3 separate regions of the Homo sapiens genome follow, and all the other regions are linked to region 1. The links are contacts of gene promoters, found by promoter capture Hi-C in human tissues and cell types (Jung and others, 2019). All regions are on one chromosome and are shown on one strand. The core of a region is centred on a gene start or on the middle of the fragment in contact, and the rest is flanking DNA. Distances in the headings are between cores, read along the strand shown.

Region 1 (4,015 bases), core at 389-2,888:
ATGGCTATACTCTTATTTGCTGAATCTTTGGAATTTACATCCATTTCCAACGATGTAATACAAAACCATGAAGGATCTCATATTTTGCATTGCTTCAAACTCAGGTGCTTCTCAAATAAAACAAAACTAGGTGACTGACTCTGAAAATGGCACAGGTTAAGAATCTGTTTTCCAAATCTGTTGCAAGAAGATGGAAAAAGACAAAAGAACTGAAAACTCCCAAACTTTTCACAGCAAAATAGAACTACATTTAATCATCCATATCAGAGAAGATTCAAAAAAGCAGTTGGGTGACTGGGCTAAGGTAGAAGACTATTCAATAAAAATCTCACATCTTGCCATTTTCCCTCCCTCTCACAATCTGCATTTAAACAAGTCAATTTCCTGAAATAGGAATCTGGCAACACCCACCAAAAAGTCCAACCATATGTAAAATGGCATCACACTGTAAAGCTCATATTACAGTATCAGGACAATTGATACTTTCAACAGCAGCAATGGCTGCCAGGCAGCGGTCCTGAATTGAAGACTTGTAAAGGGGAGAAAATACACAACACAGAAAAAGAAACCTAATAAAATGGGGAAACGGATTCTCTGGGAGGAGCGTATGCAACTCCCAAGGCAAAATTCAGAAAGATGTTGTTTCCCCTCAAAACAAAGAGCCTTAATGCCCAGAATGCCACAGTTCTGAATCGTGAGTACCTGCAAATAGACAGAAGGAAAACGGAGGGGATATGTGGGTGAGAGATGACCTGGATTCTCACGAGAAGAAGGGCAGCCACCTTAGAGGTGCACGGAATACAGTTTCAGGCCTGGTGCAACTCAAGGGGCAGTTCACCATTTTCCAGTAAGCCCGAAATTGACGAATAAAAGGGACTTAAAGTATTAGAGAGCAGCTCTTTGGAAACCCACGGAAAACAAACATTGGGGATTCAAAGGATTTGGGAGGAAAGGAGGTGGAAATGAGTCAAAAGAAGCCTTCTCGAGGATAAAATCATGTGACCCTCAGGAAGAGAATGCCCAAGGAGCTAAGAAAAGGGAGGACAGGTCCTGGGGAAAAGCCCTCCACTCCAACAAGCGGGAAGTGCATACCAATGGGTGCGGGGGGGCCCCCGAAGGTACCGCTTTCGGAGCACCCGAGGCCTCCAGCCGGATGTCAGGCCACGCACCAACGAGGGACCACCGTGCGGGGACAGTGTCCGCGCGCGGGAAAAACGGCGGCGGGGCCGGAAGGGGACAGGGTGGGCCGGAAGGGGGGGCAGGGCGGGCCGGGAGGGCGCCCCACGGAACACTTACGCGGCCGCTTTTTCCTCAGGCTTTCGACGCGCTGGCGGGAGACCGAGGTGGGGCCGCTGTAAGAGCCCAGTCGATCCCGCCTCGTGCCCTCAGCCGAGGCCCCGACCGCGGGCACCGACGCGCTGCTCGCCCGGCGCCGCAGTGGCTCCTGCCGCCGCCCTTCGGGGTCCCCGGCCGCCTGCTCCCCAGCCGACGAGACGGAGGTGGCGGAAGCCCTGCCGTGGCGCTCCATGGGCGCGCCGAGCCGGCCCCCTCCCATCCGCAGCAGCAGTCGCTGCCGCCCGAGCAAGCCCCCCAGCGTCGGATTCCTTCTCGCCTCCTCCGCGGCAGTCCAGCCAGAGCAGAGGCGCGCCCTCGGCCGGCCGCCTCTTCCGTTGCGCCAACGCGCAGGAAGCCAATCCGACGAGGCTGGGGACGGCCCAAAGGCCTCGCGTCCAGTCGGCTCCCTAACTCGAGGAGGATTGACCGTGCCTCCGTCCAATGAGAGGCTATCGTGACGGGGCGGGGAGAGGGTGGTGGAGGAGGGGATCCGGGTTCCGCGGAGGAAGAGAAGGCGGTGTAGCCCAGAAGAGAGTGATGGCGGCGCCGCCCAATGGACGCGTGGGTGGAAGGGCCCGAGCCTCCTCATCCACCCCCTCCTTCCGCCCCCCACTTGTGCATGCCTCTGCCCCCCCGGGCCGCGGAACTCTCCTGGGGCGACCCCGAGTCCCACCCCGCTGCTCCGTGCCGTCCTCGCAGCTCGAGCCCTCCTCCAGCCCAGCAGTGCTCCCGCAGCGTCTGGCCGCTGGTCGTCGGCAGACGAAAGGGCTTGAACCGCGGCTGACCTTAGCCTTTGTCCCTCGGCCTAGTTCCGCAGCTGCCGTCGAGGCCGCCAGCCCCTCCCCCAGCATGTTTGGGCTAAGCCGCCTCCTTTCCGCCTGCGTTGGAGAGAGAGGTACCAGAAGGAATGAAAGGACTGGGGCTTGTCTCCATGGCAACTGAAAGAAAGAGGTGGGTTATAAATCCTTCGCCACCCTCCTGTGGCGAAGGAGGGGAAGTGGGAGCCGGGAAGTAGAGTTGGCCTTTTGCAGGAGAGTCTGGAGCCCCTTTCTGGGTGATGCATTGGGGGCCATAGAAGGATTTGGCTGCCGCTTTGGAGCATGGATTTTTTTTTTAATCATCTTCCTTTCTCTTTTGGAGAGAAAAATTGGTCACCTCCAGGACTGAGACCCTGACCCTTCCAAGCATCCCCACTACCAAAGGCTGCCCAAGCCCGGAAGGATCCCATCCCGTTCTGTACTCTGAGGTCACTTCCTCACTCCGTCAAATTTCACTGGACTGTGGGCTAATTAAAAGTGCCTCCGTATTAGCGGGGCGTGGTGGCCCATGCCTATAATCCCAGCTACTTGGGAAGCTGAGGCAGGAAAATTGCTTGAACCCGGGTGGCGGAGGCTGCAGTGACCCAACATTGTGCAACAAGAGCGAAACTCCGTCTCAAAAAAAATAAAAAATAAAAAAGAGTGCCTCCCTGGGGAGACTGTAATGCCCACTGGGCAGTGATCCTAATGCCCCTTGGGCAGTGATCCTTATTCCCCTCTCCCATAATGATTGGTTGTAGCAGGCTGAACAAAAAGGTTGAGCTTCGCTTGTGCTTGCTGAATAGAATTCTCACGCCCACTCCACGTTAGCTCCCCTCACTGTAGGACTAGCTCTGAAAATTCTAGCTCCTGTAGGAAGCCAACACAGACGGATCTACAAGAACCAAAAACAGCTATAGCTACTCTTCTAAATCTCAGTGCCTGACATTGCCTCTCTTTCTGCCTCCTCTCTCCACCCCCCAAAAAATGTGGTCCTCCTTGACCTGAGGGAGCTTCCGTCCAAGTCTGAGCTCTGATCATCCTGAAGAATCAAAGTATCATCATCCCTTGGCTGGCAAGATGAACTCCAACATCAAAACACTTGAAACAGTAGTATTTTTACACAATTTGCCCACTGCCTCTACATCTCACTTAGTCCTTGCAGTAACATTTGGATGATGAGGTAACTTATCCAGAAGCACAAAGCCTAAAGAATGACAGAGCTTGGACTCCTGAGAAGTTCAGCTACTGCCCGCCTTATGATAACCAAAAGAAAGCGGCCGGGCGCAGTGGCTCAACTCCTGTAATCCCAGCACTTTGGGAGGCCGAGGCGTGCGAATCACAAGGTCAGGAGTCCGAGACCAGCCTGGCCAACACAGGGAAACCCCGTCTCTACTAAAAAAAACAAACACAAAAATTAGTTGGGCGTGGTGGTGGGCACCTGTAATCCCAGCTACTTGGGAGGCTGAGGCAGGAGAGTCACTTGAATCCGGTAGGCGGAGGTTGCAGTGAGCCGAGATCGTGCCACTGCACTCCAGCCTGGGAGACAGTGAGACTCCGTCTCTAAAAAAAAATGAATAAATAAATAAGAAGGCACACCACAAGTTCGAGACCACTTCTACAAAAAATAAAAAATAAAAAAAATTAGGCCAGGCACAGTGGCTCATGCCTGTAATCCAAGCACTTTGGGAGGCTGAGGCGGGCGGATCACTGGAGGTCAGGAGTTTCAGACCAGCCTGGCCCAACATGGTGAAACCCTGTCTCTACTAAAAATACAAAACTTAGCTGGGCGTAGTGGTGCGTGCCTGTAATCCCACTTACTCCAGAAGCTGAGGCAGAAGAACTGCTTGAACCTGGGATGCAGAGGTTGCAGTGAGCTGAGA
Region 2 (4,015 bases), core at 999-3,498, 310 kb before region 1:
CTATTACTTACAGATAGGCACCAAGGGATAACAGAAGCCTAGGGTTCATTGTGAGCTGGTCACCTAAGGCTCAGGAAAGCAGCCTGGGGCAGATGGAGTCTCAACTGTGCATGCCCCACTTGCACTGCAGCTGAGGGCTCCCAAGAAGCAGCCCACCTGGGCTTTATACCCCGGAGATACATGATTCACTGGACTAAAGTGTTGAAGGACATCCTGTTTCTTTTTTTTTTTTTTTTCTTGAGACGGAGTCTCGTTCTGTGGTCAAGACTGGAGTGCAGTGGCACGATCTCGGATCACTGCAACCTCCGCCTCCCAGGTTCAAGCGATTTCCCTGCCTGGCCTCCCAAGTAGCTGGGATTACAGGCGTCCAACATCACACCAGGCTAATTTTTTGTATTTTAGTAGAGACGGGGTTTCACCATGTTGGCCAGGTTGGTCTTGAACTCCTGACCTCAGGTGATCCACCCACCTCAGCCTCCCAAAGTGCTGGGATTACAGGCGTGAGCCACCGAGCCCAGACAGGACATCCTGTTTCTGACAAGGACTGGAACAGAGCGCAGGCAGTTGCAGCCAATCCCTCCTTATCACAGGATGTTACATTCCCAGCACATTCTACAGTTATTTTGAGAACTACAAGCAAGAAAGGGGGAAGAGCTGGGTTGGTCCAAGGCCACCAGGAGAACTGTCCTGCACTCTGTATGCTATGTTTCAGTATACAAAGTTGAAGAAAGGCCAGGTGCAGTGTCTCATGCCTGTAATCCTAACACTTTGGGAGGCCAAGTCAGGAGGACTGCTTGAGCCCAGGAGTTCAAAGTGGAAGCCTGGGCAACACAGTGAGACCTTCACTCTAGAAATAATTTTAAAAATTAGCTAGGTGTGGTGGTGCATGCCTGTGGCCCCAGCTACTCAGGAGGCTGAGGTGGGAGGATGGCTTGAGCCCAGAAGATTGAGGCTGCAGTGAGCCATGATCACACCACTGCACTCCAGACTGGGGGACAGAGCAACAGCCTGTCTGGGAAAAAAAAAAAAAGTTGAAGTAAAAATGAGAAAGAATCATAGACCAAAGAGATTTAGGATATAGCAATGGTTCCTAATCAAATCTGTCTATGATGATTCAGGCTGGGCACACCTATAATCCCATCACTTTGGGAGGCAGAGGGGGGTGGACAACTTGAGGTCAGGAGTTCCAGACCAGCCTGGCCAACATGATGAAACCCTATCCCTACTAAAAATAAAAAAAAAAAAAAAAAAAAAAGCCAGGCATAGTGCAGCGTGCCTGTAATCCCAGCTGCTCCCAGAGGCTAAGGCAGGAGAATCACTTGAACCCGGGAGGCGGAGGTTGCAGTGAGCCAAGATAGGCCACTGCACTCCAGCTTGGGTGACAGAGTGAGACTCCATTTCAAAAAAAAGAAAGAAAAAAACATCTCTCTTTGATGATTCAGAAGGTAATCTTCATGCCTCACAGGCATTGCTAAGCTTTTTTATTGAATCCTGGAAGTGTGAAAATTTGATGGTGGAGAATATATTGTAACATAATAACTGTGCAAGGACATAAAATGGCAAGTTTAAGGAAATAGACGTGCGGACAAATTGTCCAAAAAGTTATTCCTAAAATATGGCATACCCCGTGAAATTGATTAATCTGGGTAAGTTCACTGTCCCAGAACCTCTTGAATAAAAGGAAGGCTGGGTACACTTGCCCCACATGCTTTGTTTTGTAAACATCTTCGTTCTACAAAAGTATCTGTGTGATTGTTCACTAGGTAGGAAAAAAAACCTTTCAGAGATTAAAAAACACTGATCACAGTGGGGGCCATGTAGCTAGTAAGTTAATGGAGCTTTGACCGAAGGCTGTCTTGCAGTAGCCCAAGAAATCTGAACCCCTGCAGGGTTAGTTCCCCAGTTCCTGCCTGAAGAGCAAAGGCAGATATCGTTCGCAACAGTCAAGCTCATCTCTTTGGCCCCCTGACTTGTGAAATGAAAGCCATTATGGTAGGAAAAGGTGGCCCCTGATGGAATTAGAGGCAGGAGTTGCTGCCTACATTGAAGAACACAGGGGAAAGACCAATTCAAACCAGTTCTAGGGGTGGCCCTGGGCATCCATGGCTTTTCTTTTTTTTTTTTTTTTTTTTTTTTTGCTCTTATCGCCCAAGCTGGTAGTGCAATGGCGCGATCTTGGCTCACTGCAACCTCCACCTCCTGGGTTCAAGTGGTTCTCCTGCCTCAGCCTCCTGAGTAGCTGGGATTACAGGCATGCGCCACCACACCCAGCTAATTTTTTTTTCTTTTTTTTGAGATGGAGTTTCGCGCTTGTTGCCCAGGCTGGAGTGCAATGGCGCAGCCTCGGCTCACTGCAACCTCCACCCCACGGGTTCAAGCGATCATCCTCCCTCAGTCTCCTGAGTAGCTGGGATTACAGGCTCCCACTACCACGCCCAGCTAATTTGTTGTATTTTTTTTAGTAGAGACGGGGTTTCACCATGTTGGCCAGGCTGGTCTTGAACTCCAAACCTCAGAAGATCCACCCACTTGGGCCTCCCAAAGTGCTGGGATTACAGGCGTGAGCCACTGTGCCTGGCCTAATTTTTGCATTTTTAGTAGAGACGGGGGTTTCACCATGTTGGCCAGGCTAGTCTCGAACTCCTGACCTCAGGTGGTTTGTCCACCTCAGCCTCCCAAAGTGCTGGGATTACAGGCATGAGCCACTGCGCCTGGTCACCCATGGCTTTTAAAGCTCCCAGGTGATTCAATGTGCAGTCAAGGGCAGGAACCACAACTCTAAGTTAAGCCAGGAACACTGAGTTGTTGGTTTCTTAAATCTCCCCAAATGATCCTTATGCCAAGATGAGGAACCAGTGGTGTAAACAGCACATCTCAGACTTTACTGTGCAATCAACTCACCTGGAGCTCGTGTTGGAAAAAAACTCAGGTTCTGATTGAGGTAGGAGGTGGGACTTGACTCCACAGGTGGGGCTAGGACACCACACCAAATTGAGAACTAGCTGAAACAGGAAGAGACAAAAGCATCCCTCCGTAAGACATGTCCATCAGTGTGCCATGTCAGTTTACCATTGCCATGGCAACACCTGAAAGTTACCACCCCTTTCCATGGCAACCACCCAATGATCCAGAAGTTATCACCTTTTTCCTAAAAATGTCTGCAAAATCCACCCCCTTAATTTGCATGTAGTTAAAAGTAGGTATAAATATGACTGCAGGCTGGGCGCGGTGGCTCACGCTTGTAATCCCAGCACTTTGGGAGGCCGAGGCGGGCGGATCACGAGGTCAGGAGATCGAGACCATCCTGGCTAACATGTTGAAACCCCGTCTCTACTGAAAATACAAAAAATTAGCCGGGCGTGGTGGTGGGCGCCTGTAGTCCCAGCGACTCGGGAGGCTGAGGCAGGAGAATGGCGTGACCCGGTAGGCGGAGCTTGCAGTGAGCCGAGATTGTGCCATTGCACTCCAGCCTGGGCGACAGAGCAAGATTCCGTCTCAAAAAAAAAAAAAAAAATGACTGCAGAACTGCCTCTGAGCTGCTCCTCTGGGCACACTGCCTGTGGGGTAGCCCTGCCCCACAAGGAACTGTGCCTTTGCTACTGCTGTGCACTGCCACTTCAGTAAAAGTCGCTGTCTAACACCACCAGCTCACCCTTGAATTCTTTCCTGGGCAAAGCCAAAAACTCATAATGCAGGGCAGCTAAGCCCCAGTTTGGGAGCTCACCTGCCCTGCTTTATGATCCGGCAGGTCTGAGGATGGAGCCTGGGATTCTGATGCTCTAAAAGGCTCCCAGGTGAGGCCAATGCTGCTGATCCACTGAACACACTTAGAAGAGCAAGGCTCTAGACAGGCAAAAGAAATGGAAGGCCACCGCAGCACTGGAACACTCACAGGCCGTGGGGAAGCCCTAACACCTGCCTGCAAAATAACTTAAAGATGGGCAAACTCTCCCTGGGAGGTGAGCTCTAGAAATGTATGACAAGGGGCATGAGGGAGGGAGGGATGTAAGGAGAT
Region 3 (4,015 bases), core at 836-3,335, 290 kb before region 1:
AGGTCTAGGCAAGGTACAAGTTCTTGCACCCCAAGTTTGCATTTGGACTTTATCCTAGTTCCTCTCAAATTCAAGGTGCAAGGCACCAGCTGTGGATCCTGATAAAATGCAGTTTTTATTTATTATTTTTGAGACAGTGTCTCACTCTATTGCCCCAGTTGGAGTGCAGTAACATGATCACAGCTCCACTGCAGCCTCAACTTCCTGGGCTCAAGCAATCCTCCCATCTAAGCCTCCTAAGTAGTTGGGACTACAGGCACACACCACCACACCTGGCTAATTTTTTTTTAAATTTTTTGTTGAGATGGAGGTCTTACTTTGTTGCCCAGGCTGGTCTTGAACTCCTGAGCTCAAGCCATCCTCCCACTTCGGCCTCCCATAGTGCTGGGATTATGGGCAGGAGCCTGCATCCCTGGCCAGAATGCAGTTTTTAATCCAGCAGGTCTGGGGTGGGCTGAGAGTCTGCATTTCTTTTTATTTATTTATTTATTTGTGTGTGTGTGTGTTTAGGGCGCCAGGGGTTGTTGTTTTTTGGTTTTTGTTTTGAGACAGGGTCTCGCTCTGTCACCCAGGCTGGAGTGCAATGGCATGATCTCAACTCACTGCAACCTCCGCCTCCCAGCTTCAAGCAATTCTCATGCCTCAGCCTCCCAAGTAGCTAGAACTACAGGTGTGCACCACCATGCCTGGCTAATTTTGTATTTTTAGTAGAGACAGGGTTTCGCCATGTTGGCCAGGCTGAGAATCTGCATTTCTTTTTATTTATTTATTTATTTGTGTGTGTGTGTGTTTAGGGCGCCAGGGGTTGTTGTTTTTTGGTTTTTGTTTTGAGACAGGGTCTCGCTCTGTCACCCAGGCTGGAGTGCAATGGCATGATCTCAACTCACTGCAACCTCCGCCTCCCAGCTTCAAGCAATTCTCATGCCTCAGCCTCCCAAGTAGCTAGAACTACAGGTGTGCACCACCATGCCTGGCTAATTTTGTATTTTTAGTAGAGACAGGGTTTCGCCATGTTGGCCAGGCTGAGAATCTGCATTTCTAACTAGCTCCCAGGTGAGGCTGGTACTGATCTACCTACCCTGAGTAGTGAGGCTGTAATCCCACCACCAAGGAGCCCACAGAGGCTGTTACACTGAAAGGGGTGTTGTATACTGTGTCAGCCTTGACCTCCTGGGCTCAAGTGATCCTCCCACCTCAGCCTCCCAAGTAGCTGGGACCACTCCCACATCCAACCATTCTCCTCTTTCTCCTCAATAACAAAGTCCTGATTTTTAACTGGGTCCATTGCCATCCAGAATAAAAATGATACTGCCCAGCCTCTGTAGCAGCTAGGTGCAGTCATGTGTCTATGTTCTGGCCAATAAGCATTAAAGTGCACTGTTGCTTAGAGACACAGCTGACTCAGCTCCAAGGGTTCCCTTCTTGCCATCTGCCTTTCCTCTTCCTTCTAGCCTAAGATGCAGATGTGAGAACTGGAGCTTCTGCAGCCCTCTTGGACCACAAGATGGTCTTGAAGATGAGAGCCAGGTGCTAATGATACGGGATCCTGCTGCCTGCCTCCAGATTTCCTTTTGATTTTCCTTGTTTAAGTCACAGTTGTGTTTGCTTTGCTTTGCTTTTTGCTACATGCACTAGTCCTAACTGATGCAAGTGAAAAGAGAAGATTTGCTTTTTAGGAGGATGGCTGTGGCAGCAGAAAGGGCCTTTCTGAGGACCTCTCTCTCTTTAAACACCAGCCCTTTTCTCTCTCCATCTGAGCACCGTTGGGCAGGCATAGTAGATGCTGGTTGACTGAACTCTTCTTCACCAATTATACCAAATAATTGTTTTAAATATAACTGTTGAGTTTTAACATTTACTGTGTGTGTCTACTTGATGGGGGAAACTCAAAATCCACTTTATGGGAGCATAAATATATATTTCAGATTTTTTTTTTTTAGTGTACAGTTGGCATATTGTGGAGCATCAGTAATCTAAACTTTATTTTCTGAAATATATTGGGAAAACATTTCCATTGAATCAGTGCTGTCCAATAGGACATTCCTATCGCTATGTACTTTACTATGGTAACCTCTAGCCACATGTGGCTGTTGAACTTGAAATGTGACTAGTGCAACCAAGGAACAAAAACTTTACTGTATTGGCCAAGTGTGGTGGCTCATTCCTATAATCCTAGCACTTCAGGAGGTTGAGGCGGGAGGACAGCTTGAGCCCAAGAGTTCAAGACCAGCCTAGCAGTATGATGAAACCCCATCTCTACCAAAAAAAAAAAAAAAGTACAAAAATTAGCTGGACATGGTGGCGTGCCGGCATGCCTGTGGTCCCAGCTAGTTGGGAGGCTGAGGTGGGAGGATCACTTGAGCCCAGGAGGTCAAGGCTGCAGTGAGCTGTGATCACACCACTATACCCCAGCCTGAAGTGTAGACAGAGCAAGACCCTGTCTCAAAAAAGAAAAAAAAAATACTGTATTAATTTAAATTTTTAATAAATTAATTTAAATTGAAAGTGGCTGATAGCTACCGTATTGGCCAGCACAGCATGGAATAGCTCAGTTTTCATAACATCAAGAAAACATTTTAAGTTTCAATTTGATTCCATTTTTTCTTCCAGATATTAAGTGCACACTTTTTTCCTTGTGTTCTCTCTCATTACAGAAGCTACTCCATCCCTGCCTCACCTGAGCACCCCTTAGTGAACACTACCCTAGCCCTCCTCACCCTGGACCGGACACACATACAAAATACACCCACAACTCCCCTCCTCACCCCAAACGCCCCGCTTACCGCTGTCTTTGAGCTCTCTGTGTACGGCAGGGGCTTGGCCAGCTTCTCCACATCCGCCCCGCTGGAGCCCACCTGCGTGTATGAATAGGAGCCGCGGAAGTAAGGGTTGCTGCCCCAGGCCGAGCGCAAGATTCGCCGAGGTTTTGGAATGTTGGGGTTCCCTGATGGAGAGTCAGAAAAGCCAAGAGGAGGGAGGATAAGAAATGGCTGCATATGGAAGATGACCCCAAAGGGACAACCCCCCACCCCACCTCCAGGGCTCCGGGAGGACCAGACTGCCAGGGGTAGGCACGGAGGATAGAAGAGGAAGGAGGGAGGCTGGGGCTCGAGCTGTGTACCCACTCAGCGCCTCCTGTGACCCCCGGCAAAACGCTCCACCTTACTTTTCCTATCTATCTGAAAACACATGACACATAATCATGTTTCCCCGCCTAATATCGGGGGTTCTCGTGAGGTCCTCCTGGAATAGTGGGTGAAAAATGTTGAGCTGAAAGACTCAGAGAGTAAAAGGCAAATCCAGCTCTTAGCAACAGAGCACAATGGGCGGTGATCTCTGAGTGTTTTACCATCAGCCTTTAGAAAGGGGGAAGAGACACAGCGCCCATAATTCTGAGTGTGTCAAGTTCTAAACTGTCAGCAACTGAAGAGCCTTTGGCTGAATGTGGCACCCTGCAGTGGCTCTCCCGTGGGGCACAGCATCCGAGCTTCACGGTCTGGGGAGGAGAGAGCTGCCATGGGTCCACCAGAGGAGGGCAGGTGAGGAAGAAGCAGGGTGGGGGAAGCGGGTCGTGGGGCACGTGGCGCACCTGTGAACTGACGCAGCATCTCCGTGCAGATCTCGGCCACTGCCTCGTCATCACACTTCTCCATGACGAGGGCCTCCTCCCCGCAGATCCAGCCGCTCAGCACATGGCCGTAGCGCTCAGGCGGGTAGAGGACATCAAAGCCGCAGATCTTGCGGTACCAGAGCTCAGGTGGGTAGGTGAGGGTGTGGCTCTCTGCTTCGTCCTCCCACACAAACTGTAGGCTGTTGCACTCAGGGCCCCAGAAGGGCTCCTCGAATTCCAGAAAGATCTTGTCGGTGGTGCCAATGCCCAGGCGGTGGATGGCAGCCACCTTCTCTGTGGGCAGGCCTGGCCGGAAGAAACTGGTGTACTGCCTCTTTAGCACACCTAGCGACACGGTCACAATCACATGGTCCGCCGGGATCAGCTCACAGTCCTCGCACTCCA

The links. The method cuts DNA at HindIII sites, captures the fragments that hold promoters and counts their contacts. A contact is called where the count stands out against the background at its distance.
Region 2: a fragment that was not itself captured here is called in contact with the fragment with the promoter of PANK2 in region 1 in 1 of the 25 tissues and cell types used here (IMR-90 fibroblasts).
Region 3: a fragment that was not itself captured here is called in contact with the fragment with the promoter of PANK2 in region 1 in 2 of the 25 tissues and cell types used here (hippocampus and small bowel).

The regions. Positions count from the first base shown.
Region 1 is chr20:3,887,010-3,891,024 of GRCh38, reverse strand. PANK2 (pantothenate kinase 2) reads right to left here and starts at 1,638. Exons shown (of 7, transcript NM_001386393.1): 1 at 1,297-1,638. The coding sequence starts at 1,594. It overlaps PANK2-AS1 (PANK2 antisense RNA 1), which reads left to right and starts at 1,852. Exons shown (of 2, transcript XR_001754478.3): 1 at 1,852-2,286; 2 at 2,476-4,015. RefSeq lists silencers at 1,254-1,753, 1,944-2,003 and an enhancer at 2,012-2,563. The HindIII fragment of the contact is 29,664 bases long and covers 1-4,015 here.
Region 2 is chr20:4,198,781-4,202,795 of GRCh38, reverse strand. No RefSeq gene overlaps it. Among named protein-coding and RNA genes, the nearest start is that of LINC01433, 7.7 kb to the right of the region's middle. RefSeq lists a silencer at 517-717. The HindIII fragment of the contact is 3,341 bases long and covers 578-3,918 here.
Region 3 is chr20:4,182,423-4,186,437 of GRCh38, reverse strand. It overlaps SMOX (spermine oxidase), which reads right to left. Exons shown (of 7, transcript NM_175839.3): 5 at 3,590-4,015; 6 at 2,784-2,944. Among named protein-coding and RNA genes, the nearest start is that of LINC01433, 8.7 kb to the left of the region's middle. The HindIII fragment of the contact is 6,680 bases long and covers 1-4,015 here.